Regions from separate parts of the Homo sapiens genome. Here region 1 is linked to region 2. Evidence: promoter capture Hi-C in 16 types of primary human blood cells and fetal thymus (Javierre and others, 2016). All regions are on one chromosome and are shown on one strand. Each heading gives the region's core, a stretch centred on a gene start or on the middle of the fragment in contact. The rest is flanking DNA. Distances are from core to core; before and after follow the strand shown. Region 1 overlaps POLR1F (RNA polymerase I subunit F). Region 2 holds the start of AHR (aryl hydrocarbon receptor).

Region 1 (6,834 bases), core at 1,489-3,988, 2.4 Mb before region 2:
TGGGCCAGGCAGTAATGAAAATTTATCAATGACAGAGGACAGGGCAGCCAGTCTGTGCCTTGGAAATGGAAGCTCTGTGGGAAAGGTCTTCCAGTTTTTCATAAGCTGGAAATGCAGATATTGATACAAAATCTGCTGAAATAGATCCTTTTTTACTCTTTACTTTCTCCTCTCTTCCTCCAGCAGTTCTCTGTGTGTATACACATGTTCGTATGTATACTTGTATGTGTGTGTATATGTTCTTTTCCTTAGCTGATAAATATTTTAATAGATCAGAACTGTTAACCCTTGATATTGTTCATAAAAATATAGATCAATTTAACCATGACAAAACCCACAAGACACTTCCAATTTTTTTCATTTTTCAATATCAAATTAATACAAGTAGTATCCTTTGCCTGTTAAACTGGGATCTTATAACTGGACTACTAAAGTTGGCAGTAGATTTGTATTTGGAAATTAACAAACTTAACTTTCATCTACTTTGTGTAAATTATTATTTTAAATATAAACATGTAGGCCAGCCACAGTGGCTCACACCTACAATCACAGCATTTTGGGAAGCTGAGGCAGGAGGATCACTTGAGGCCAGGAGTTTAAGACCAACGTGGGCAACATAGTGAGACCTCATCTCTACACAAAATAAAAAATTAGCCAGTCATGGTGGCATGCATCTGTAGTCCCAGTTACTCAGGAGGCTGGGGTAGGAGGATCACCTGAGCCCAGGGGTTCAAGGCTGCAGTGAGCTATGATTGCGCCAATGCATTCCAGCCTAGGCAACAGTGAGACCCTGTCTGTAAAAATACACACACACATACACGGAAATAACATATATACATGTACATGGAAATAACAGATTGTAGAAAAAGTATGAAATGAAAAATATCCCTTTTAATCTACCTACTACAAGATCCACTCCTCAAATATTTTTGACCACCCACTTTTCCTTCAATTATTATTATTAATATTTGGTGAGATAAAATTTACATATAATAAAATGCACAGATCATATTGTTCAGTTCAGTGAATTTCGTCAGGTCTGTATACCATTCCATCTCCTTAGAAAGGATCTTCATGCCCTTTCCTGGCCCAATTCCTTCTCTTTATTGCAGATATAATTACTCTTCTGATTTTATCATAAGTTGGTTTTGCTTATTCTATAGTTCCATATTAATGGAATTATTCATTATACATTCTTAAAATCTGCCGCCTTTTGATCAGCATGTTTTTGAGTTTCATCCATGCTGTTGTGTGTATTGGTAGTTTGTTCCTTTTTATTGCTCATGGTATTCAGTTATATGACTATATCACAATATAATTATCTGTCTTCATTGATGGATTGATTCCAGGCTGGGGCTTTTATGAATAAAGCTATTGAAAACATATATTTTCAGACATATGAATGAAAACATACATTTTCATTTCTCTTAAGTAAATAACTAGAAGCAGAAGAGCTAGTTCACAGGGTATTTATATAAAACCATTGTCAGACTGATTTCCCATTCAACACTTCATTTACTCTGTATCGTTATTAACATTTGCTATTGTCCTTTAATTGTACTGATGGGCATATAGTAGTATCTCATTATGGTTTTAATTTGCATTTCCGTTTCCCTCATAAGCAATTTTTCATATATTTCAGTAAGAAGGGCCTGTTCAAGTATTTTGCCCATTTTTAATTGGGTTTTTGTATTTTTATTATTGACTTATAGCAGTTCTTTTTAGTCTTAAAATGAATTCTTTTCAGATAAGTATTTTGAATATTTTCTTCCAATCTGTGACTTGTCTGTTAACTTGTAATGGTATTATTTGATGAACAGTTACTTTTAATTTTGATGAGGTCCAATTTATCATTTTATATGTTTATGACTATTGCTTTCTGGACCCTATCAAAGAAATTTGTCTGCCGAAAAGTTGTGCAGATACTGTTCTGTCGACTTCTACAAGCTTTTAGTTTTAGCTTTTCCATTTAAGTCTGTGATCATTCTCAAATAATTTTTGTGTGTAGTGTGAGGTAGGCCTTGAGATCCACTCTCTCCTTCATGTAGCTTTCCCGTTGTTCTGGATTCATATATTAAAAAACCTTTTCTTTCATTGATTTTCTGAAATTGACATATTTTTAACAGCAGTTTTAGGTTTACAGAAAAATTGAATGGAGAGTATAGAGTTCCCATATAACCACCCCCTTTCCCCTATTATCAACATTAACTTGCATTAGTATGGTGCATTTGTTACCATTTTTGTGCCAATATTGATACATTATTATCAAGTAAAGTCTGTAGTTTACATTAGAGTTCAGTCTTTGTGTTGTACATTCTATGAGTTTCCACAAATGTGTCATGGCATTTATTGAGGTATTGCTCCTCACAAGAGGGCATTAGCTGCGGGGGTCTGCCTGCAGACCTTGACCTAAAAGATGGATGAATGAAACGTACACTGACACACAGATATTGCTTTGCCAGTACTGCTGAGTGTCCGACTGCCTACACACCGAGAGAGGTTTGTCACTGCCGCTGGCCCTGAGTAGTTCACACTCCAGGCATTTATTTCGTATACAATTAACAACAGAAGCTCTGAGTCCACACACTTTTGGATAATTAACATGGTTAAGTGAGTAGTTCTATGAATGATTAAAGCTCAGGTACCGAGGTTTAAAGTAAATATCACTGGGGGCAATATCCCTGCCCCCCCAGAGGCCATCTGACTTAAAGGTTAGTTAACAGAGGTAGGGTAAACAGACTTAACTGGGGAAGCCTCTATTGTCCCTAGTATTTACTCTGTAACTTAATGCTCTAAGGTAAGAACCGGCTGTCTTCGGCCTGTTCAGCTATTACAAGCTATGTAACCTTTTGGCCTTCCAAAAAGGTTTGTGACTATTCCCTATAACTTTCCCTAATATTTCCCTTTAATATTTCTGCCACTATCCTGAGTGAATCCCAACAACTTATCTTCCATTATAGTATGATACGGAATAGTTATCCTCTCCTAAAAACCGCTTGTGCTCCACCTATTCATTTCTCCCTTCTTCCCTCCGTTCCCTGTAATCCCTGGCAACCACTGATCTTTTTACTGTTTCCGTAGTTTTGCCTTTTTAAAGAAGAAGAATAGAGTATGTATCCTTTTCAAATTGACTTCTTTCACTTAGCAATATGCATTTAAGGTTTCGCTATGTCTTTTTATGGTGAGAACTTATTTATCTTTATTACTGAATAATCTTTTATTTTATAGCTGTACCAGTTTGTTTATCTAGACCATCTGGAAACTACCAGTGGGAACACTAGACTTCTGATCATACCAGATAGGGAAGTTTTATTCTGTCACATGTGTAAAGGGTTGCTGATGTTAAACAGCATTGTATACACATCGGCATTATTTGCAGTTTCATAATTCAGAAAATGTGAATTTTTAATATTTCTGAGTCTCATTTATATGCTTTGTATATATTGACCCTGAGAAGAAAAATAAGTTTTATGCAAAGTCTCATCTTAAAATCATATAGCACATACTTTTGTTTTAGTTTTAAAGCTTCTAATAATACTTTCGTGATTTAGCCAAAAAATAGTCATGGTCAATATTTACATTTAAAGGGTAAGCTGTCTTCTAATGGAATGCTTGCATCATGCTAAATTAAATAATTAAAGAATGCATTTTTAAGCTTTGAAATTTGGTCTATTTACAGAAACGTAACATGGATCCCAGTTATAAAACGCATATGAGGTCTTTTTAGAAGTTATATGGGGTTTGCTTGGTTTCAATGTAGCTAAAGAGTAATACTGTCCTCCCTAAGGAATCCTGCAGTGGGGAGTTGAGATGGTTTTTTTTCTTGGACAGGGTGGCGGGGGCAGGTTAGTTTATCCAGTTAGAAAGTTAATGTGCCCAGTTAGACAGTTAATGTGCAATTACTTATATAATAAAGTTTGAGCTTTCTCAAAACCCAGTGGTATTCTAAAGTGATGTTTTGGCATGACATGTGGTAAGTTTTAATTGAGGTAAACTTTTTCCATATTAAATTAGACCATTAATTTGATGTTTGTTCTTTGAAGATTATTTGAAGCTTGTAAAGTTTGGTTCACCTTTTAACTTTGTGGATGTGTTCTTTATGTTACGCTCTTTCTTCCTTCTTCTTCCCAGGGTATAGTTAATAAAGTGTCTTCTAGCCACATTGGCTGTTTAGTACATGGGTGTTTCAATGCCTCCATTCCTAAACCTGAGCAGTTGTCAGCTGAGCAGTGGCAAACCATGGAGATAAACATGGGTGATGAACTAGAATTTGAAGTATTTCGTTTAGACTCAGATGCTGCTGGAGTATTCTGCATTCGGGGAAAACTAAATATCACAAGGTTAGTTTATCATTACGTAATTATCACTAGGTACTTAATTTCTATTTAATTCTGAATTTTAAAGAGAATTTTATTTTAATTTTAAAGAGAATAAGCCTCTCTAAAAATACCTGTTTATAGGAATATTCATGCTTTCAAACCATAAAGTCAATATAAACAATACTCTTAAGTAATCTGTAACAGTGCATCAAATAAATATTCTGAAACACAGACTAGCTAACTGGTCTGTATTTTAATATTTAATAGTTCAATTTTGCTGAGTATTTTCTATTTTGTTGTTAACTTTTTTTTTAAAGTTGACCTCTAAACTTGAAACTACTGAAAGCACAATTACCTTCCTAACTATTGGCCTGCTTTGTTTTTACACACAAAAAATTGTGTTGATTATTGTCTTCTGTGCCAGATATTTTAATTTCTGTATTATTCTGTATAGAAATTATTATAAGAATTAACTCTGATCTTGAGCTTGATTCCATGGGAGCCAAGTTTAAAGGAAGAAGGAGAGAGACAACTCTTAAAATGCTGCTATTGCTAATAATTTTTTCTGTATTTTGCCTTAAAGTTACAAGAGTATGGGTTGAAGTTCTGGAACAGCTGTTCAATTTCTGTAATGACAGAAATACAGTTTATATACATAGTACAGCAGCCTCACTATTGAGCATTGAAATATGACTAAGTCTGACTGAGGAACTGAATTTCTAAAGTTATGTTTTTGGTAGTGATTAGGTACATGTGCCTAGTGCTACTGTATAAGACTGAAGTTCTGGAGAGAAAGCTACTTCATCGATCCATGTTTTATTTTAGTGGTGTAAAATAATTCACAATGTTAAAGTAATACTATCTTAGTATCAGCTAAGTAGAACAATGGACTATTATTTGAAACAAGATTAAAATAGTAGACTGGAAACTCCATTGCTTTGATAAATACCAGATCATATTTTCTATTAGATGTCAGTGGTTTGGTTAATAAGCCTAGGTATTGTGGTGTTTAATGTTCAGTGACCAAATTTTTCTGAAACAACCCAAAACTTGGAAGACATGTTTTGACAAGATTTTTATGTCATTTTTATGTGTGGAAACAGTCTGGGAGAAGTTATTCATAAAGAAAGAATTTAACATTTAATGTTAAATTTAACATTTTTCAATTTAACATTCAGCAGCCCATACATATTTTAGTGGGTTGAGGGATAACAGGATAGAATATTTGGAATTTATGCCATGGTTATGTGTCTTGTACTGGAGTCATTATTTAGAAAATCTTAGCCTGTTGGGATATCTTGATCTCAATTTGTTCTTTGTTTTTTGCTTATTGTTCTGTTAATTTTTTTAACTGTTAATTTATAGTTTACAATTCAAGCGCTCTGAAGTTTCTGAAGAAGTTACAGAAAATGGCACTGAGGAAGCTGCTAAAAAACCTAAAAAGAAGAAAAAGAAGAAAGACCCAGAGACATATGAAGTGGACAGTGGTACCACAAAGCTAGCAGATGATGCAGATGACACTCCAATGGAAGAGTCAGCCCTGCAGAATACTAATAATGCGAATGGCATCTGGGAGGAGGAGCCAAAGAAAAAGAAGAAGAAGAAAAAGCACCAGGAAGTTCAGGACCAGGACCCTGTTTTCCAAGGCAGTGACTCCAGTGGTTACCAAAGTGACCATAAAAAGAAAAAAAAGAAAAGAAAACACAGTGAAGAGGCCGAATTTACCCCACCTTTGAAATGCTCACCAAAAAGAAAAGGGAAAAGTAATTTTCTTTAGTGTATTTTAAACACGATTCAGTTTTTAAAAGATCGATCTACATACAATAGATGAATAAATGTTTTCAGTGATATGAAAAGGTTAAGTATGCCAGTAGTTTACAAAACAGAAAATACTTAACTAGGAGTAGGAGGCTTTATATGCTAAAAATGATAAAACTGACTGTAAATTAATTTGGGGAAAGCCAGTATTGTTAAAATACCATTTTATACAAAATAAAAAGCTGCTCTCACTGTCAGCTCTCATATTCTTCCAGGTTTTGCACTCTACATAAAATTATTTCTACAATGTCAAGACTAGCCAAAGGACTTTATAATACAATATTATATTACTAAAGAATGAGTTAAGTTTGAGATTTTGATGATTTGATTTTGTGTGTGTTTAATAGGCTTCACCTTATTACATGCTATTTTATTTTGCTTTTTTAAAAACTCAGGACATTAACTAATTTTAGGTTTTCCTTTATCATGGCTTTCTACAGTATTTCTATTGTTTAACATAAAATAGTTTGCCAAAGAAGTTTCTGAAGTCTTCACAGCTCTTAAAAGCCAGGCCAGTACTGACTGTGTGGTGGTAAATGCTATTCATTATTTTCTTTTCTTTCTTCCAAGTGCATGTGTGTCCTTGTCTTCTTAAGTCTGAGAGGTTGCTGGAAAGGACTGTTTTCTTGTACTTGTTCATTTGTGCCTCAGCCATTCTAGTTTTGTTGTGTGTTGGAGGACAGTCTAATGAAGACAG
Region 2 (6,511 bases), core at 3,918-6,417:
GTACGATTTGGTTCAACCTTAAAACAACACATACTTTTCTATCCCAAAATTCCCTTACAGGAATTTTTTCCTAAAAAAATAAATTTGCATTAAAATTTACACGTCCCAAGGGTATTCTCTGAAATATTAAAGTATTAAATGGTTGGGAATAAAATTTCCTCCCAAAAGAAAAACAGTTAAAAAAATTATAGAATATTAGTACAACAGAGTATTATGCAGCCTTTAAAAACAATGTTTTAAAGAGGAAGGGAGGTGGGTAGCAAATCAATAAGACAGGAGAAAAGACTCTAAGAGGAAAGGACGTAAAAACACAAGTATGGGGATGAGCAAGTACAAATTATGTATGGGAAATGACAAATAATTTATTTCAGCCATAACACTATCTGAGAAGAAACAGTGAAAATCCCTAGGATATGGCTGTACTGTATGCATCACTGAATCTGTTCACCTGGACAGTACGAACACAAGTCAGTAAGAACACAAGCTTTGAAGCAAAAAGACCTGGGATCCAATATCCAAACTCTTTCTCATTATCTGAGCAACTCTGAATTTGAATCTCAGTTCCCTATCTATAAACTTAAATAATACTACCTTTCTTTAGTACTATTATAAAAATGAAGAAAATGATGTAAAGAACTGGGCAAGCTTGTATCAGAATAAGTGCTAATAAACAGTCATCTTTTGTCATATTAAGCCACTAGCAAAATATCAATTTTAAAAGAAGCATAAAAGTAGAAAGGTACTGTTGTAAAAGATTTGTATGGTATTTATTTCTAAGTAACTGTCTTAATTAAATACATGAGTAAGCACGTACTATGTAAATTTATTCACCAGTGAAGTAGCACATTTCAGCCGTAGCCGTAATTGAGAACATAATCGTATACTGCCTCTTACTGTTTCACGGGCGAATTGATTGTTCTGTGATAATGTAAGCTAAAAGAATAGAATTTACGTTTCTGTTTCATTTGTATCTTTAGCAGTCTTCACAGTTTATATATATATATATATTTTTTTTTTGTTCTGTTTTAGTTGTGAGAGTAGCAGTACAGGTGCTGACTGTCGTGCTTTATTGGTCAAGAAACTTGCCCAGATCTGTAACAGTGAAGAAACTAGACCTCATTTTTTAGTTTAGATCCAGTGCTTTCAATTTATACCTGTTTCCTCTTTTTGCCATTTAATGTTACCTATAACTAAACACTTTCACTTACTTCATTTCATAGTTCTAATAAGCAAGTGTCCATAACTACTATGTATATGCTATCTAAAGCTATTGGAAAGAAAAATGATGGAGAAATAATTGTGTAAATGAAAAGACCCATTCTTTTATTTTAGATGCTATTTTAAAAATGGCACCATAAATTTATAGAAAACATTTAATGAGTATTATGTAAGTAATACAATTCAGTATTACATATATGAAATTCATGACATTTAAAAAGAATAGCAAGACAATGCTTTTATATTATTAATATGTTAATAAAAGTAAAAGTTTTTATCAGTATGCATTTTAAAGAAAGATCAGCTAAGGCTCAGAAGTGACTTCCAGTTCTGACACTTCATAATGGCTTAATCACCACTACAGCTGGTATCATTTTAAAGTGTAGATCCCCTTTTCTCAACACCTATTATTTGCCAACATTCAGTGCTAACTTTCTATGTACAGGTAAGCTGAAATCCATTACAACTTTTTCTTTATGATTAAAACCTTAAAAATACAAAAATATATACAAAATTATCACTAGGGAAAAACATTCTATTTAATTATATAATGGCCTTTTTGACTATCTTCATGAGACAAAATAAATAAACACTTTCATTTCCAAAGAGAATAAAATAAACACAGGATTTGTTCTCTTTTTCTGAGTAGGGTCACTAAGTATGGGGCAACAGTCTAAGCAAAGTTATAGTAGATTCTATAATGAAAGTTATCTTTGATATTTTCTTCTTGAAGGTAGGAACATGAATTGGACGTAAAGTTGCTTCAGAGCCTTTAATTTCCCAACCTTCATTACTCCAAAAAGAAAGGAAATATTTATTGAGAGTCTACTATGTTGGAGATACTTCAGTGGGATTAAATTGAACACATTTAAAATGTATTTCCTACTAATAAAGATAATTTTCAATGTGAGAGCCGCCACTAGGGGGGGTTGATTTTTCTTAATAAATTCAACTCAAGATTGAAAGAGCTTCAGGTTACAATTGTCACCTACTTTACTCCAAAATTTTATGGAATACTTATATTCCATAAAATTTATATTTAATTGGCTGTCTTTTTAAACAGTCCTATAATAATGCTACAGCATATTTTATCTGTAAATAAAATAAAATGGCTCTCATTTAAGAGGTCAAAGTTAAGTAGGTCTGGATAGCATTTTCAGCTCAAAACAAGATCTATTTTCCCCAATGTTGGCATGTTTTGGGGCTCATTAGGCCACAAACTGGTAGTTTAATTTTAAAACTCAAATTTAATACTAGGTTTAATGACTTCATTTCTAAAATAAACTTTGATTAACTGCATTATAAAGTTAACAATTTTTCATTCAGGTAAAAATAATTTATATAAACACTTTCACTTGATAATGAAAATGCCAGCACTAGCCTATTCTTACAGAGCAAGCTGGTAATATTTAAGGCATCTGTATGATTAGAAGCAATATACGGTGCTCAGCAGAGATCTGATAAACATCTATGCTAACAAAATGTGGGTGAATGGAAAAAATACTTTTGTTATATTATAAGAAATTAATACAAGTATATTAAAAACTAAGTAAGTATAATATTAGGATAATCTAATAAAAAGTACATTTTACGCAAAATAACCAAAATCCATAAATGTTAAACTGTGTAATGAATACAAAATTATGGCATTTGTTTTTGTTTACAAAGCCATCCAGGTCCTTTGATAACACCCTAACTGAAACCCAGTATCTTAAAAACACATCAGGGAGATCTTCATGTTTTCTCACCATACACATAAAACCCATGACACCCCTATTATATATGATGCTAAGTGTATTATTATATTAATAAACACATAGAACAGACATTTGGGATGCCTCCCAACTTTAACCATCAATGACAATGTCAAATAAGACAAACATACTTTAATATAAGAAACCATTCTACAAAATTAAAAGTATTAATAACCGATGTCTCAAACTGCCAAGGTAGAAAACTGCTGGTTTGACAATATTCCCTTAAGACACACTGTACCATAAAACTTCCAAATTTTCATCAGTCTATTTATAGATTATTATCCTCTGTTAATGCCAATTCATAAGTATACTTCTGAAGAACTATGATAACTGAAATTCTGAAAGGAAACTAAAATTTTAGAATGAAACTTTAAACCAATAACTGGTTTTAAATGTAAATCTTAAAGTGTTATTTTTCTGGTTCCCATTAGTGATAGTTGGAGTCTAAGCAAAATGCACACTTCTGATTTGGTCTGAGAAGACGTTTAAGAGTTCTTAAAATTGTTTACGAAAACTTGAAACACATGTAGGTAAAGTAACTCAGAGATCTAGAAATAAAAAAATTGGAATAAACACATGAATACAACCACCTCACAACAGGAAATGTTTTGAGCACGGATAGTTTTTTCTGACACACACAAAAAATTGGCCATCTCACACAAATATTCCACCAAAATCAACCGACAACGACAAAAGCAAGTTTGTACTCACTCAACTAGAAGAAAACTTTGAAGGGGAAAAGAATTAGAGGTAGATGTTAAGAATGAAAACCTCTCTCAAATGCAGTTCTAAATCTTTTATTTTACAGACCCTAAAGCCACCCCAAAAGTGATAAGCAAGCTTCCGAAAAAGATGTCTGAAGAATACAAATCCTCCACCGTATCCTGTCCGTTGCATCCACTCCCACCTGCTACCACTTCTATCCACTTTACCGATATGGTCACGATGAGCGCTACAAAATTGCTGCCAAATAAGTAAATATGAGCGCAACACAAAGCCAGTTGGTGGGGACCAAAAAGTACCTTTAGAGGCACTCAGCCCCTTCGTAAAAGTCAGCATGTGTTTAGCTCTTTAAAACATCTCGCCTTACCAAACTCTACGAAGAATGAGAATTAAGACCGTCCTCTAACCTAACCCATGCGGATATGAAAAGTGGAAGGAGATTTCAAGACAGGTTTATACTAACTAATCCATTAGCCCAAGGCAGATCAGAGCTGTCAACAAATCAGGACCAAATCAGAAAGAACAAAGTTGCAAATGTGAGAGGGTGTGTATGCACTGGTGCGGGGGAAGAGGATGGGTGGGAGGACAATTTTTAAAATGCAATCATTGAAAACGGGAGAATCCAAGTCCTCTGTCTCCCAGCCGGCCTCCAAACCTCGATTCCACGGGCAGTGCCGGGAATGGACCTAATCCCAGGATCGCAGGGATTTGGGGGCGGGGTGGGGCTGCCTCCCGCACCCGCGTGCCTGAGCGCCCAGCCCCCGCGATGAGGACGCGCTCGGGACACTCACGTTTTCTGCACCGGCTTCCGCCGCTTGCGACTGGCGTAGGTGATGTTGGCGCTGCTGCTGTTCATGGTGCCCAGCCGACGGCGGCGGCTACTCCCCGGGCACTGGCGGCCGGGTCCCCGGAACCCGGTGTAGGCTGGGACCACTGCGGCGGCCGGCGCCGGGTTCCGCGAAGCCGCGCCCGCTCCACCTGCGTCCTCTCGGGACAGTGGCGTGGGCGCCGCGCCTCAACGCCTCGGCTCACGCAGGCTTCCGCAGCCCGCGCCAGTACAGGTGAGCTGCCTGGGCCTGGCGCAGTGAGGGTGGGCGAGGGGCGGAGACCCGCGAGCAAGGCGGCGCAGGTGCCGTCTACACCGGCGGAGGCGGCGCGGCAATGCCCGCAGGTGAGGCGGCCCGGGCGGAGGAGGAGCCTGGGCCGTCTATTTAGAATCCTGGCCTGGGTCGCTCACGGTGGCGCCGCGCCCCGTGACCGTCGCCGCGGCCCCTTGGGTGAGGGAGGTGCCGCCGCGCTGCTCCCGGGACTTCCTAAATCCAGGGTGCTTCCCGCCTGCGGAGCTCGGGCGCGGGCCACCAGTCCCGGCTGCTCCCAGCTTCCGTTCGGCTACACGGCTGCCCCTGTTCTGAGCTGGCGGTCCGGGGCACGCTCTCGGAACAGAGCGTCGACGGGACTCCCCAGCCACTGCCTCCCGCCGCCGCGCGCACCGGCTGAATAGCAGGAGCACCCCCGACCCCTCACCGGCCCCGCCCCGCCCAGATCCCGCGTAGCCCCGCCCCGTCCTGCTTGCCCCCGCCCATCTGGATTCCATTCCGTCTTCCTTGAGGGCCCCACCCTCATCCCGGCACGTGATGACGTAGGACGTAAGGACGCCCCCCCCCGCCGGTAGCCATCTTCGTGCATAGGCAAACTTATTGTAGCTAGACTGTACAAAGTATATCAAGATATGCCAAATATTGAGCTTAACTTCACCTGTTTGAGAGACGGTGGGTCAGCTAACTTGTGGCTAAGAATTACAATTAACTGGTAGACAACTGGTAGACAACCAATGGGACTGTATATTTTCCTAGTTGGGAAGGCTTCAGAAGGCCAGATTTGAGTTGAGACTTGAAGGCTAGGAGTTTCCTTGACCTTTTTTGGTGTGCGGGGGAAGTCTTTACAATAGACAGGAATATAGATAATAAGGGGACTATTATGTATTGTGTCATGGAGGACCATGTGGAAAAATATTGGGAGTAATTAACAATATTGAATACTGTTGAGAAATTCAAATTAGTTGAGAACTGAAAATGTCATTCTTGTTTTCTCAATGTGTAGTCACTGATGACTTTCGTGAATGCAGTGTTGGGGTAATGGGCCTGCAAATAACATTGAAGTGGGTACAGGATTGAGCTGAAGATAACAAAATGGCATCCTCAAGCAGGCAATTTTTCTTCCAAGTTTAGCTGTGGATGAGAGACACATCAGATTGTATGTAGGGGGAGTGAAGGGTTAAATGAGGGTTTTCTAGTTTTGGTTTAGTTCTTTAATGGGCGATACTGAGCGGCTTAGAGGGGGTAGAGATAAACTATGTAGGGAACCTGAGGGAAGAGTGAAGGAATGATAGATATTAAGATACCGAAAGCAGGAGGGAATGAGTGCCAAAGCATAAATGGGAGATTAGGACTAATAGATTAGATACTAACAGAAACAGCACTTACAGTGCTTTGCTATTCAGAGTACTCCACAGCTTCTTTTGAGAGTTACAGGAAATGCAGACTCTTTGGGTGTCCTTATTAAATCAGAACCCGAAGTTCACAGGAACTCCCAGGTGATTCAAATGTACATAAAGTTGGAGGAGCAGTTCTCTACCATAGCTGGAGGAAAGAAGGACAGTGGGTGAGATATAGTAGGCTACTAAATTTTGGATCAGAAAAATGAAGGAGATGTAACAAAGAGGGTATTCTAGCATGAGCTACAAAAGAACAATTGTGTTTTGTGGTCGATGATCTTTGTTTTAATTTTAGAAGAGCATAAAGTGAAAGTGATCT

What was found. Contacts are between HindIII fragments. The CHiCAGO score rates a contact against its expected background, and 5 or more counts as called.
Region 1: a contact is called between a fragment that was not itself captured here and the fragment with the promoter of AHR in region 2, in 1 of 17 cell types (total CD4 T cells). The highest score is 5.3, in total CD4 T cells.

The regions. Positions count from the first base shown.
Region 1 is chr7:19,697,578-19,704,411 of GRCh38, reverse strand. POLR1F (RNA polymerase I subunit F) reads left to right here. Exons shown (of 4, transcript NM_001002926.2): 3 at 4,132-4,340; 4 at 5,685-6,834. The coding sequence ends at 6,096. Among named protein-coding and RNA genes, the nearest start is that of MIR3146, 4.4 kb to the left of the region's middle. The HindIII fragment of the contact is 1,578 bases long and covers 1,950-3,527 here.
Region 2 is chr7:17,297,308-17,303,818 of GRCh38, reverse strand. AHR (aryl hydrocarbon receptor) reads right to left here and starts at 5,167. Exons shown (of 11, transcript NM_001621.5): 1 at 4,490-5,167. The coding sequence starts at 4,554. LOC101927609 (a long non-coding RNA gene) reads left to right here and starts at 4,499. Exons shown (of 12, transcript XR_007060234.1): 1 at 4,499-4,759. RefSeq lists silencers at 4,493-4,542, 4,583-4,692, 4,743-4,892. The HindIII fragment of the contact is 6,297 bases long and covers 3,818-6,511 here.